Regions from separate parts of the Homo sapiens genome. Here region 1 is linked to region 2. The links are contacts of gene promoters, found by promoter capture Hi-C in blood cells and fetal thymus (Javierre and others, 2016). All regions are on one chromosome and are shown on one strand. Each heading gives the region's core, a stretch centred on a gene start or on the middle of the fragment in contact. The rest is flanking DNA. Distances are from core to core; before and after follow the strand shown. Region 1 overlaps ADD3 (adducin 3). Region 2 holds the start of BBIP1 (BBSome interacting protein 1).

What was found. Contacts are between HindIII fragments. The CHiCAGO score rates a contact against its expected background, and 5 or more counts as called.
Region 1: a fragment that was not itself captured here is called in contact with the fragment with the promoter of BBIP1 in region 2 in 1 of 17 cell types (neutrophils); the score reaches 5.4 in neutrophils.

The regions. Positions count from the first base shown.
Region 1 is chr10:110,078,645-110,085,371 of GRCh38, reverse strand. The region is part of intron 1 of ADD3 (adducin 3); the gene reads right to left. Among named protein-coding and RNA genes, the nearest start is that of ADD3-AS1, 74 kb to the right of the region's middle. The HindIII fragment of the contact is 3,598 bases long and covers 1,169-4,766 here.
Region 2 is chr10:110,914,994-110,921,111 of GRCh38, reverse strand. BBIP1 (BBSome interacting protein 1) reads left to right here and starts at 1,932. Exons shown (of 4, transcript NM_001195305.3): 1 at 1,932-1,991; 2 at 2,899-2,991. The coding sequence starts at 2,955. It overlaps SHOC2 (SHOC2 leucine rich repeat scaffold protein), which reads right to left and starts at 1,508. Exons shown (of 9, transcript NM_007373.4): 1 at 1,455-1,508. RefSeq lists silencers at 1,049-1,138, 1,149-1,588, 2,439-2,598 and enhancers at 1,809-1,858, 1,879-2,078, 1,768-2,307. The HindIII fragment of the contact is 2,602 bases long and covers 169-2,770 here.

The sequences.
Region 1 (6,727 bases), core at 1,718-4,217, 840 kb after region 2:
TTCACCAAATTAAATCTTCAACAAAGTGTAATCTAAACTATAATTATGAACTTTAGAAAAAGTTCTCTAGATCCTGGTCTCCAGATTATATATGCCCCATTATTTCATTTTGAACTGTGTTGGACATTAACTGCCATGCAAGCTTGTGGGTGCATTTAAAGAGGTCTAGGCTCTTTCCTGATAAAACAGGATTTAGCTTTGAAAAGTAGGCCTAGTTGATATGAACAAGAATTCTAAAAATGTATGTATACATTGATATTTTATGACACCAAACTAATTCATATCAAAAAATGGGGGGGAATTAAAATTATTTCTAACATGAAGAAACTGGAAATAATGAGAAGATAAAGAGACAACAACCCAAGTCTCCAGTCCACTGCTGGAAACTGAACTCTCAATAAAAAGTGAGAAAATCTGGAAAAAGACCTGAGAAGTCTAATATCAAATTCAGGAAAAAGAGAAAACATTAAACTAATTAACTATTTAATTTATGGAGGAAAGTTTATCAAAAACAACAGAAATGCAGACTTTAAAACAACAAAGAATAACTTTCATACGTTTGTTAGGATTGTAGAGAAACAACATTGCTTTGTAAATATAAATAAGAACTCTTCCAACAAGAGGAGTTGTTTTCCCTGATATTACCTAATGAGAGCCAAAAGAGGAATACTATCCTTAGAATTTAAAGATGTTAGAGCTTAAAAGGATGTAAGATATTATCAAATCTTATTCTACCTCATTTCTCATATGGAGAAAGGTAGAACAGATCCTGAGAGAGAGAGTGACGTGTCCCAAGTCCCTCAATTTATCTTACCCAATACTTTTCACTTTATCTACATTAGAATGAGATACATAAGACTGTAGACCATATGATCTGTTCATATAAGAAAAATTTAAAACATGAACTGCACTTAGAAATTTATTTAACTAAAGATTTTGGTAAGCACAATTTTAAGCACATTTCAGGTGCTACTGTACATTAAATAAACTGTTAACTTTTATCTCTAAAAAGCCAGGTAATGCCTCATGTTACAATTTCTTGATTTTAAAGGGTTTCTAGGTATGTGCTCATGATTAATATACAAAACATTTTGTTGGTGTTATTTCCATAAGAATCTAAAACAATTTTTACTATTTTAAAATAATGAGAGTGCTTTTCTTTCAAGCTTTCATGGTAATTCACCAGGAAGAGTAAACTTCATGACTCAGCTTTTTGTGCCCACTCACACATGCCTAAAAGGTCCACTGAAATTGCTTGCTATATTTTAAATTCCAGCTTGAAGTAGGACTCTTGTTTTTCTGAGGCTCACAAAGACTAGACTCACAGCTTAGTTCTATAGTGTCTATTTAGCTGTACTTAAAGCCTACATCAAGTACTTTATTGTCAAATAAAAAGCTATCTATGAGGAGCTTAGTAACTTAAGTAGCTCTCCAGAGTTTGGTAAATATTTTGTGTCTACTTTTGATCTCTATTGTCTAGGAAAGGTTCTGTCAAGTTGTAAAGTGCTAGAAAGTGTTATTTTAAACCTTTAAAAGGTAGTAAGAGTACTACAACCCTGGGATCCTTGGTTGCAACAAAGAAGCACAAAGCCAACTACTATAGTTTTCCAAAAACACCATTTCCTCAGTCCCTGCCCCAAGGAAATAAAAAAGCATCCAGGAAGTCCCATCTTTAAAAAATACTTAGCTATCAGCCTGGGGCTTCTAAAATTCAGGCCCTGAAAAAACGATAGGAAAGACTTCAAAGTCCATCCCTATTAATTAGGTTTAGAGGGAAATGACTCTTCCTAAAAAAAAGCCATCCCCGATTGTTGCTTTGCTCACCATACTTCTTCTTCTATTTTCTTTTTTTTTTTGAGACGGAGTCTTGCTCTGTCACCCAGGCTGGAGTGCAGTGGCGCGATCTCGGCTCACTGCAAGCCCCGCCTCCCAGGTTCACTCCATTCTCCTGCCTCAGCCTCCCGAGTAGCTGGGACTAGAGGCGCCAGCCACTATGCCCGGCTAATTTTTTGTATTTTTAGTAGAGACGGGGTTTCACCGTGTTAGCCAGGATGCTCACCATATCTCATACATTTGGACTGTTTTCCCCTCTCATCTCCATCCGTCCATCCAATATTTGTCCATACTTTGAATTCTTATTCAAAAGCCAACCCCTTCCATGGTGACTTTCCTAAGTTCCTCCATCTTAGCTCTCCCCGCAACCTTAGTGTTCAAATCACTTTGTCATAGTCTGTATTGCCTTTTAATTATCTGAGTATGTCTGTTGGCTCCAAGTAACTGGGTCAACATTTTTTCCTTTCTTTACTGTCCACTTAGAGTTACTCAATAAGGGTTTATTAACTCACTGAGGTGAGTAAGGCTCTTGACTCATAATACCCCCATTCTCTACTTGTCTTAGAATAAACCAGGACAGGGATTCTAGAGCAAACTCTGAAAACTGGGCTATTCGTGGTTTGATAAGACTGGCCAAGTATCCAAGATGGTTGAGGTAATGAATATTGTGACCTGAATATGAAATGTCTTAAGCTGACTGAAAAGTAATTACACAAAAAAAGTGTGAAGATATGAGAAGAGCATTATCGGTATCTGGAAATACTTAAAATAAGTAAATACATACATAAAAAGAGCAATTTCTAAAAATCTATATTTACCGCCATGTTTTGAGACCACGTACAAATAATGATACAAAAATGTTATCTTCAAACACCAAAGAAACTACTGATCCAATCAATCAGCAAATGCTAATTCAGGTGTTAGAAAAAGGTTATAAAGACTATTTAAGGCACAGCTCTGATTCCTGCCCTTAAGGACTTTCCAGTTTATTAATAATTGTGGAGAGAAGTAAACCGAATAAGCTATCTCGTAAGACAGTTTAATGTTTTACAGAACTTGAATTCATGGCTTCCAAAACTCAAAATAGGTCTTTAAATGGACATTTTTCATACCCAAAAGGTATGTTTAAAATAATTCATTCTCATCTAAGGACAGGAAGTGTGTAGAGTAAGCTAAGCCTGCAAAAGGTCATAACCACTATTAAAGCATTTTTTTTCTGATCTTTTTAACTGTCATGACTTTTATGCCCAACAGTTACTGATGGTCAAATGTATTCTGAAGCTCAGCCAAAGTTTTTTTTTAGAGTGATACTCAAAACAAAGCAAATATTGGCTTAGTCATGACACTTGTTGTTCTAAAACGTTAATAGCCTATTGTTCACTGTGGTTGTCTCAGCAAGATAATACATTGAAAAACAGCATTTCCTGATAGGAAGTGAATTCCCACTGTGTGTCACAGGACCCTAGCCAAATGCTGGGCTCCAAAGCAGAAACAGCAGTGCCTTCTGGGACTGCGTAACAGACCAGGGTAATGAGACTTCCCCTTCTCTCGTTTAAAATGTCTGTTTCAGCTCAAACTACAATCTATTTGACTGATTTTGCCACCATAGGACTGTTTTCCTAAAATGGCTTCAAATGCTTCAAAGTTTGTTCAACATCCTGTAGACAGCAGCATCCTGTATATTTCTAACTATGAAGAATTTCCTTAGTTATACATGCCACAATGGATGGGGTAATTTGACAAAGAAGCCATCAGGATGTATCTTCAAAACAGAGGGTGACCATTTTCAAGCGTGGTTTCATATAAGCAATTGTTAAAAAATCATAATAGGTGAAGCACAATAATTCCAACAGTTTTTTATACATCAGATACGTTTTAGTAGACAAAAATTTAGCCTCAATTAATTAGTCCAAGCACCACAGCATTACTTAGAGTTCAATTAGTGAGAAACTGGTGTCACCAGCAGAGCCTCATACAGAAGAGTGTGCCTCCAAAGTAACTGACACTGTACTAAGACATTAAGACCTTCTTTTTAAACACTGAAAACATACTTTTCATCTATTTTCACAGATTCGAATTTAAATATATATATATTTTTTGCCAAGTTCCAATCACCAGTGGATATTAGAAAGCTCCAACAACGCAAGGAACAGGAGCAGTTGTCATTTTAGAGGATTCTAAGCAAGACTGTCTCAGTTACCTAGGTACTCCTAGCATTTAACTCAGTGCTTGGCTGCTAGAAGGTCTTCGATACATTTTGCTAAGTGGAATTGTATGTCAAAAAATGCGTATGAAAATTAACAAGGAACACTAATAATTATCTAGCATTATTTGAATAATAATAATATCTCAGATTATAGAAAAGTATATTCAAGGTATATTAAGCCTTCTGCAAAGAAACTAAGGTAACCACCACACAAACATACAAACTCTCTCTCCTACCTTATTGGCCAAGAAAATGTCTTTTATCTTCCAGTTGTAATTACACAAATCAATTGAAGTCCTTACATCATTTTATCTTTAGAACAGCTGTCATTTGATTGAATTATGAAACTAAAACTGTGAAACAGGTAATGCTACCCAATGCTAAATATCCTATGTGTGATACAGCAAAAATACTGCTTTTGTTACTTTATAACTTTGCCATGTAACTTTGTAACTTTGCTGGCAGGATATAGTTCACCTCTAAAGCAGCTTCCTCAGCATCAAATCTGAAAACTTTAATTATGTTAAGTAATGTCAGTTTTAGCATTTAACGAAACAAGGAGATGGATTAAAGGGCTAGAATGTGCAAACAGTTTAAACAAGAAACCTGAAGCCAAGTTTCAAAGCCCTAGGATTACTTCTGAATGGTCGGACTCACTGAAAAATTATAAGGATCCATTTTAAAAACAAACATAACTTCACAATCTTCCTCCTCAAATATTCAAGCTTGATAAAAAGGATTTGCTTTTAATTCTGGAATGGGTTTTATACTTTTGAAATTGACTTTTGAGAAAAGGATAGTTTATGTAAAATATAGAATGATATTCAACTTTCCTTTTTTACATTCTTAAACTTTAAAATAGCTTAGGCCACATGGAAGGTCAAATAAATTACAGACCACACAATATATACAATAGATGTTTTTAATTTAAATATGAGAAACTTCATATAATTTGGGTTATCCAGTTTAAATCAATATTCCAACAAAAATACTACATAAATATTGAAGTTGGGTGGGACATTAAAACTCATCTATTTCAATCTCTTATTTTATAGATGGTAAAACTGAGGATTCAAGGAGGTCAGGTGACCCACCCCAATACCACACCCAAGTTACCCGACTTTGAACCCAATGTTCTTTCACTGCTCTGAGGAGAAATGACTTCCTCCTGGGGCAGTTCTTACCCACCCCGACCCATGAATGCCTGGGATAGTGCGGCCTAGTTTTGGAGCCCTAGTCTGATACATAGAAGTTGGTAAGGGAATTTTCTATTTCCACACAGCACTATTATACCTTCCCTATAGTACCCCAGTTCTGGGTTCTATCCCAAAACGGAGGTAGGAGAAGACTGATAGCATAAGTACGTCTGATGGAGAGGGGATGGGAACTAACTTGGAAATGATCCAAATATCCATCAAAGGAGGAATAACTGAGTTACAGTACATCCATCCACACAATAAAGTACTATAAAGCCATTAAAAAGAATGAAGTAGGCTGGGTGCAGTGGCTCACGCCTGCAATCCCAGCACTTTGGGAGGCTGAGGCAGGTGGATCACTTGAGGTCAGGAGTTTGAGACCAGCCCGGCCAACATGGTGAAACCCCATCTCTACTAAAAATACAAAAATTAGCCGAGCTGTTATCCCAGCTACTCGGGAGGCTAAGGCAGGAGAATCGCTTGAACCTGGAAGGCAGAGGTTGCAGTGAGCCAAGATCGCGCCACTATACTCCAACCTAGGTGACAGAGTAAGACTCTGTCTCAAAAAAAAAAGGAAAAGAGTAGATACATAATGGTATAATTTTATATGTATTAAAAAGATGTTCAGGTAGATCACACACACACACACACACACACACACACACACACACACACTCTCTCTCTCTCTCTCTCTCTCTCTCTCTCTCTCATCATTTTTTTGAAAAATAAATTCCCTTCTGGGGAGTGGGGCTGAGGGATTAGGGTGGGAAAAACATTTTGTCACATGCCCTTTTATATTATTTCATCTTTTTACCATATGCATTTTTTAGTAAAATTACCTTTTAAAAGTACGTTAAAGCAGAGAAAGGAAATTCCACGGAGCTCTGGGAGACAACTCTGGTGATGAAGATAAAGAAAGGGTTTATCAATGGTAATCTGACACTCTATATCTAATGTACATGACACATTATATCTAGTTCTCTAGAAAAGCCTTCTCAATGCTTTTCATGTCATGGTATGTCTATTAGTTCTCACTAATAGGGTATGCATAAATAAGACAAAGCTTGTATAGCAGACTGGAGTAAAAAGGAGGAGACTGAGGGGCAGATTCACAGGGCTTGGTAAAAAATATTCCATTTTCTTTATATTATGTATTTAGGAAAAGATAAGAGTATTAATGGAGATATTAACTATGATTTTCTATTAAAGTTCCAAATAAAAATCTATTTAAAAATCTTCTAATTTCAATATTTAACAGCAAATTCGTTGGCAAGCTTTGCTCCAGCATAACTGTAAAAGTCGAAGTTTAACTGTATTCCTCCAGAGTTCAAAGGGACAGTACATTGTAACCAATATTTTTTGAAATGAAACATAACAGAAAATAGCATTTTCTGTGTTGTAAGAGAGATTTATTTCAGAGATGTAAAGTGGTTCGTGTGTGTCATGATTGGGTCATGATGCAAAATATACTGAAAAAAGTTTGAAAGCCACT
Region 2 (6,118 bases), core at 683-3,182:
GTTCTACAGTCCACAGCATGGAGGATGAGGGTAAAGATTAGTAAGTACACTAATAAATTGAGGTCTTTAAAATTAAAACTATTTTTCAGTGGTGTTGCTGCATTTAGTTACAAAAACACTTGGTTACACAAATGTACCTTAGGATTCTGAAAACCGTAACAAAAAGCTTTTGATATAGTAGTCCCTCTTGAGTAGAAACTAGACGCACTCGGTATCTAAGAAAAGTATACGAAATGGCACAGGTGTAAGCCTAGACACTGCTGGTAGTTATCACGCTGGAGGCAAATACTATACAGTCCACATCTGCAACCTAATTTTGCTTCAGCATCCCCAGAGACTTCGAAAATATTTCTTTGGGTAGGTTGCAAAACAGTGCTTCCTCTTTTATTCTCATCACCCCCATTACGATACAAAGCAACAGACAAGAAAAATCAAACTGCCAACTGTAAGGGCTTAAACACACACACAAAGCATCTTCTTTCTAGCTCCCGAATCGGTATTTATTCCACCTGTTTGTAAATCCATAATTCCACAATAACACAAACTGCCTGCTTAAAGAAAGGAAGGAAGAAAAGAAAAAGAAAGAAAAGAAATAAAGAGAAAGGCAAGTTAATGCTTTGGAGTCATTACTCTTCCACCTAGGCATGGGGGGAGGGGGATGGTACAAAAACAATGGATATTGAGGTGCTGGGGGAAAAATCGTCTTGCCCCAAAGCCTCTTGTGTTATGAGCCTGGGGAAGTCGGGGAAGAGTGAGACTACTTTTCCTCTCTCCCTAAAAGCTGTGCTATCACGGGGAGAGGTTGCCATCGGGCATGTTCTACGAGGCGGTCTCGAAGGGCTACAACTCGCTTCGCTAGGCAACACACCCAGAGCCGATCCAGCACTCTTCACTCAAGGGTTTTTAGGGAGAGGAGAACGGGAGAGCAAGGTGGACTCCAGGGAGGGGGCGAGAAGAGACCCCACCCTGTATGACCGCCGCTGCGCCCGGGCCCTCGCCAACGATTTACACGACTCGGGGCGCCCTGCGGACTGGGCCCGGGGGCCCAGGGAGCCGAGAGGAGAGAGACTGTCCGCCGGGGGCCCCCGGCCCGCGCCCTCGCGCCGGCTCGCCGTCGCCCAGGCGCTGTCCGGGCCGCCCGCCGCCGCCGCCGCAGGCCCGGCCCCGGCCGCTGTCACACCCGACCGCCTTCCTCTCCGCGCCGGGCTGCAGGCTCCCACGCGAGCCGGCTCCAAGGGCCCCGCACTCCCGGAGACAGCAACCAGGAAAGCGGCGGCGGCGGCGCCTCCCAGGGCCCCGGCCCCTCGGGCCTCGCCCCGGCGCTGCCGGCTCGCGCCTGTCAGGGCGCACGGGGCCTCCCCCTACCGACAGCCAGCCCGACTGCCCGACGGACAGGAAGGCAGGCAGGAAGAACCGACCAACAGACACCCTCCGCCTCATCGGCCCCGAGTTACCGTCAGGAGCCCCGACTCCGCCATCCTCCTCGCTCGCCCTCCTTCCTCCTCTTCCTCCTCCTCCTAAGAAGCGACGCTGCCCAACCGCCGCCCCCCGCCCGCCCCTCCCCCACTCGCCCCGCCCCGCCCGCCCCGCCACTACTCTCGCTCCAGCCTCCCCGCCCCACCCCTCTGCCGTGGGCCCGTCACTCGCTAGGCAAGAAAAATGGGCGGAACCGGGGCAAGAGAAGCTGCCCAATCAGAGACGGGCAGTGCCGCCAGCTTCTCTCTCTCCGCCCTTGTCCTTTCCTCAGTTCCTCTACGCCGTCTCCCGCCCACTGGGCGCCTCTGGCTAGCCGGGCTACAGAGTAAGCCTCCAGCAGGGTAGAGTGACAACTCCCCGATCGGAAGTTACTGTTGAAGCTAAGGCGGCCATAACTGATAATGGCAAAAGGAGATTCCTGGCTTCCTGTTTCCAGGGTGACGTAGATTTTTTTCCTTCGCCAGTCTCACCGTTACCCGGGGCAACAGCTGAGCCGTCTGGGAAGGGATGCATCTGTAAGTAAGCCCAAAGAGGTACCGTGGGTGACCACACATCCCATGTTAGACAAGTTAATTCATACTCCGGATTACACGTCCAGTTTCCTGGCCCTTATTTTACTGAGACGTCTGGTCACTTACGGAGATGGACAACAGTTTAGGGCTCCGAAATTCCCTCTCCTGCCCGGAAGTTGCATTTGGCACTTCCGAATTGGGTCATGGCGGAAGGGTGTTAATAGCCTGGCCGCCCGTGCCCCAGGGAATGCTTATTTTTGACCTTAGTTGCAAAGTGAGGTGAGTCCGTGGACCCCAACCAGTGGGCCGGACCCGGGCCGGACGGTCCCTGTGGGACAGAGCGCTGAAATGGCGAGCGGGGCTCAGGGCCGCTTCCGTTGGAAGGCGGTTTTTTTCCGGGCTGGCCTGGCGGCGGCCCGCCCCCGTGAGGCTCCCTGTGGGGTGAGGCCGCTCTACAGGCCGCCCTAACCCAGCCAGAGGCAGCCCGGCCGGGAGGACCCCAGCGGGGAATGGGCGGGGACCTCGGGGCGGAGCTCCTAACTCCGGCAAAACGGAGCTCTTGACCACGCCTCCGCAAGTTCCTATTAAGTACTTTCACTCCTTGGCCTTTGGAGGGAGGAGAATTCGGGAACTTCAGAAAATCATTTTCCACCTTCACCTATAAAAGGAAAAGATGAGCCCCTACCACCAGGGCAGGACCTCAATCTTTTTCCCCTGCCACCTGCCTTCCCATTCTGATTTTTCCCCCCTTTCCGCGTCTCTCCTTTGAGTCTTTGTAAGCTTTGACTGCGGTTCTGGTGGTGGGATTCCTGCAGGTCTACAGTTTCTTAAACAACGTGTTGAAGATTTTTGAAAATACTGTATTGCTTTTATATGGCCCTTTACAAAGTTATCATACATTATCTTGTAGTTTCTTCTGTATGCTTGAGTCAAGAACTCTAAGTCATCTTGGTAATACCGGGTTGGATGCTTAAAGCTGCAGCAAAAAGACCAGAACTTTCAGGTAAAATTGAAAATGGTTAATATCCAGCCAGTCAACAATACAGATGCAAACCTACCTTCTCGACTTAATTTCTGCTTCCTTAGTACTTACACGCCAGCCAAAATGAACTACTCTTGTTTCTTTGCTGTTAATTACTGAAATCTGTTGTAGCAGTCACCTTTTGTGATTCTGTATCTGATTCTGTTACCCGTGGAGATGTGTTTCCAGATTCTTCCCAGCAGGAAGTAATTTCCTCTGAGTTTAGCATTTTTTGTACATCTTTTATGACAATCAGTATGTTATATATATATAATAGCGCTTATGTTTTTAGCTTCACTACCATGTCTGCACCTAAATAGAATGGTTTGTATCAGATTCGTCTTCCCGTCATTTTCACCATGCACATGATATTATTTTGGTAAATACTTACTGAAAGTTTGAATATATCGGGTGTCTCTTGGATGCCCAAGACACTTCCAGCCAAGTTTTAGAGACCTTCAATTTATCAGAAATTCAGCTGAGCGCCTGCTACTCAATCTTTGTTTTACGTTTCCCCTGTGAAGTCTTTCTGACATGATTTTTTTCCCCAGTGTTTTATTATGAAAGTGTTCATATATTTAAAAGCTGAAAGAAATAATTTAATGAATATTCATGTACCCATCATCTATATGCAGCAGTTAACATTTTGCCATTTTTTTTCATTCCTCCCCACTTTTTCATTGTCATAAAAAGTTGCAGACACTTATTGTTAGGCAAGACACCCTTAAGATTTCCAGCATGAATTTCCTAAGAATTTTGAAGTTCTCCAGCAAAACACAATATCATTATTTCAGCTGTTTTGTAACTTTTAAAATCTAGGCCAAGTGCTAATTTTCCTAATTTACCCAGGAATATCTTTTATACCTTCTCCTTCCCAATCCTGCAAAAAAAAAAAAAAAAAAAAAAAATCAGGATCCAGTCAAAATTTTTCTTTAGCTTTAATGTAGTAGAGTTCCCCCATCTTTTTTCCCCCTGTGACATTGGCATTTTGAAGAGTTCAAGGCAGGAGTCTTTTTGGAAATGGGCCCCTCTTTTTTCTTCTTGTAAACCAGAAGTTAGTCTAGAGGCTTAAGCTGAACATTTTTTTTGCAAGGATATGTCACAGTATTCACACTTTTCTAGTCATGACTAAGCCTTCTCAAACGCAGCTATACGCACTTTGCCGTGAGTTGCTGGTTAAATCCATCTCACTTCTTAGCATGCTTACCCCTCTCCAGTGTCCTACAAAGAAGAGGGTAGCATTTAATCCTGTGTGTATAGAGTATGTGTTAGTGCCTTGGGTTGGCAACATTGACTACCTTTAATAAAGTGTTGCTGCTACTTTGCCTATTCTTGGAGCTGATGCAATGACTTTCTGCAGTAAAGTGTACTGATGTCAGCATAGTTTATGAGTGTCAACTCCTGGCACCCTGCAGACATTGTTGAAAGATGTGTGGGCCCTGCAATTCAAATACAGATGAATCTTGATGTTATCAAAGCAAATACCAAGGCAACTGTTGGCCATCTGGTCACATTCCAATTTAGGCAATGTTATTTTTCTCACTGAAATTCTCATGCAAGTCTTAATTGGTCCTGGTGTTTTTATGATAGCTTTTTGGTAGCATTAAGCAGAGCCTATTAAAAATTGCAAAATCAAGATTATACTTAACACTTAGTACACTAGATACGTTCTCTGCCCAATGGATAGAGAAGTGTTTGTGGAATTTACTTCCTAATCACAAAGGGAAAACTCAAGACTGCCAACGTCGTATACTCCTCCTAGCCTAGACTTATATTTGATCATGAAAGATAAGTGAAAGGAAAAAACTGCACATAAGGGAGCAGAAGAAAATGCTCTGGGAGGACAGAATTTTTTAGATTGGTATAGAATGTTTTTAGCCATCATATTGAAAATTACATAGTGCATTCTGTTAGTTGCTTCCTTTGTGTAGAAGGGAATTTGCTTGTGTGGAAATAATCCAGATTTAAGTAAGGCAAAATAATATACCAATTAAGATCACAGGTTTTAGCATCAGACCTGGGTTTCAGGAATAAGACTATTCAATAACTGGATGACCTTGGACAGCCTACTCACTCTATTAATAATCTATTAAACAGTGCCTTGCCAGGTGTGGCTCACACCTATAATCCCAGCACTTTGGGAGGCCGAGGCAGGTGTATCACTTGAAGTCTGGAGTTTGAGATCAGCCTGGCCAACATGGCAAAACCCCATCTCTACCAAAAATGCAGAAATTGGCCAGGTTTGGTCATGCACACCTGTAGTCCCAGCTACTCAAGAGGCTGAGGCACCAGAATCACTTGAGCCTGGGAGACAGAGGTTGCAGTGAGCTGAGATTGCAGCACTGCACTCCAGACTGGGCAACAGAGCGAGACCCTGTCTCAAAAAAGAAAAAAAAAATTAAAACGAGCCTTAAAACTGTTAAGGATTGTGTTACAGAATTAATTCAAATATATATAAAGTGCTTTACCTCGGTTTATAGCACATGGAGTGCAGTCAGTTTATGGTAGTTAATAACTTCTAAAGCAATCCAGTTAGGGGACGTATTGAATTCAGGCACATATTGACATTGATTATTTAGTGAGTGAAGGAATGAATCTATGACAGTAGTTCTCTTAAGTTTAATGTGGGGGACTTAATTAAAAGTTAGGGTCCGGCTGCTGTGGCTCATGCCTGTAATCCTAACAATTTGGGAGGCTTGGGTGGGCAGATCACTTGAGCCCAGGAGTTTGAGACCAGCCTGGGCAATACGGCAAAACCCTGTCTCAAAAAATAAAAATATTAGCTGGGTGGGGTAGCATGTTCCTGTAGTCGCAGCTACCTGGGAGGCTAAGGTTGGAAGATCACTTGAGCCCAGAAGGTCAAGGCTGTGGTGAGCCATGATCGCACGACTGCACTCTAGCCTGAGCAACAGAGCGAGACCCTGTCTTAAAAAAACAAAAAAAGAAAAAGTATTCTGATTCAGCAATTCTGATTTCTGAAGAACTCCAGAAAAATCTGTATTTTTAATAATTGTACAGGGAGTTTTGATGCGATGATTTGGGGACTGGGCTTTAAGCAGCACTCTGTAAAGTATCAAACAACTTTTCTCTTTCCTTGCACACTGTTGAA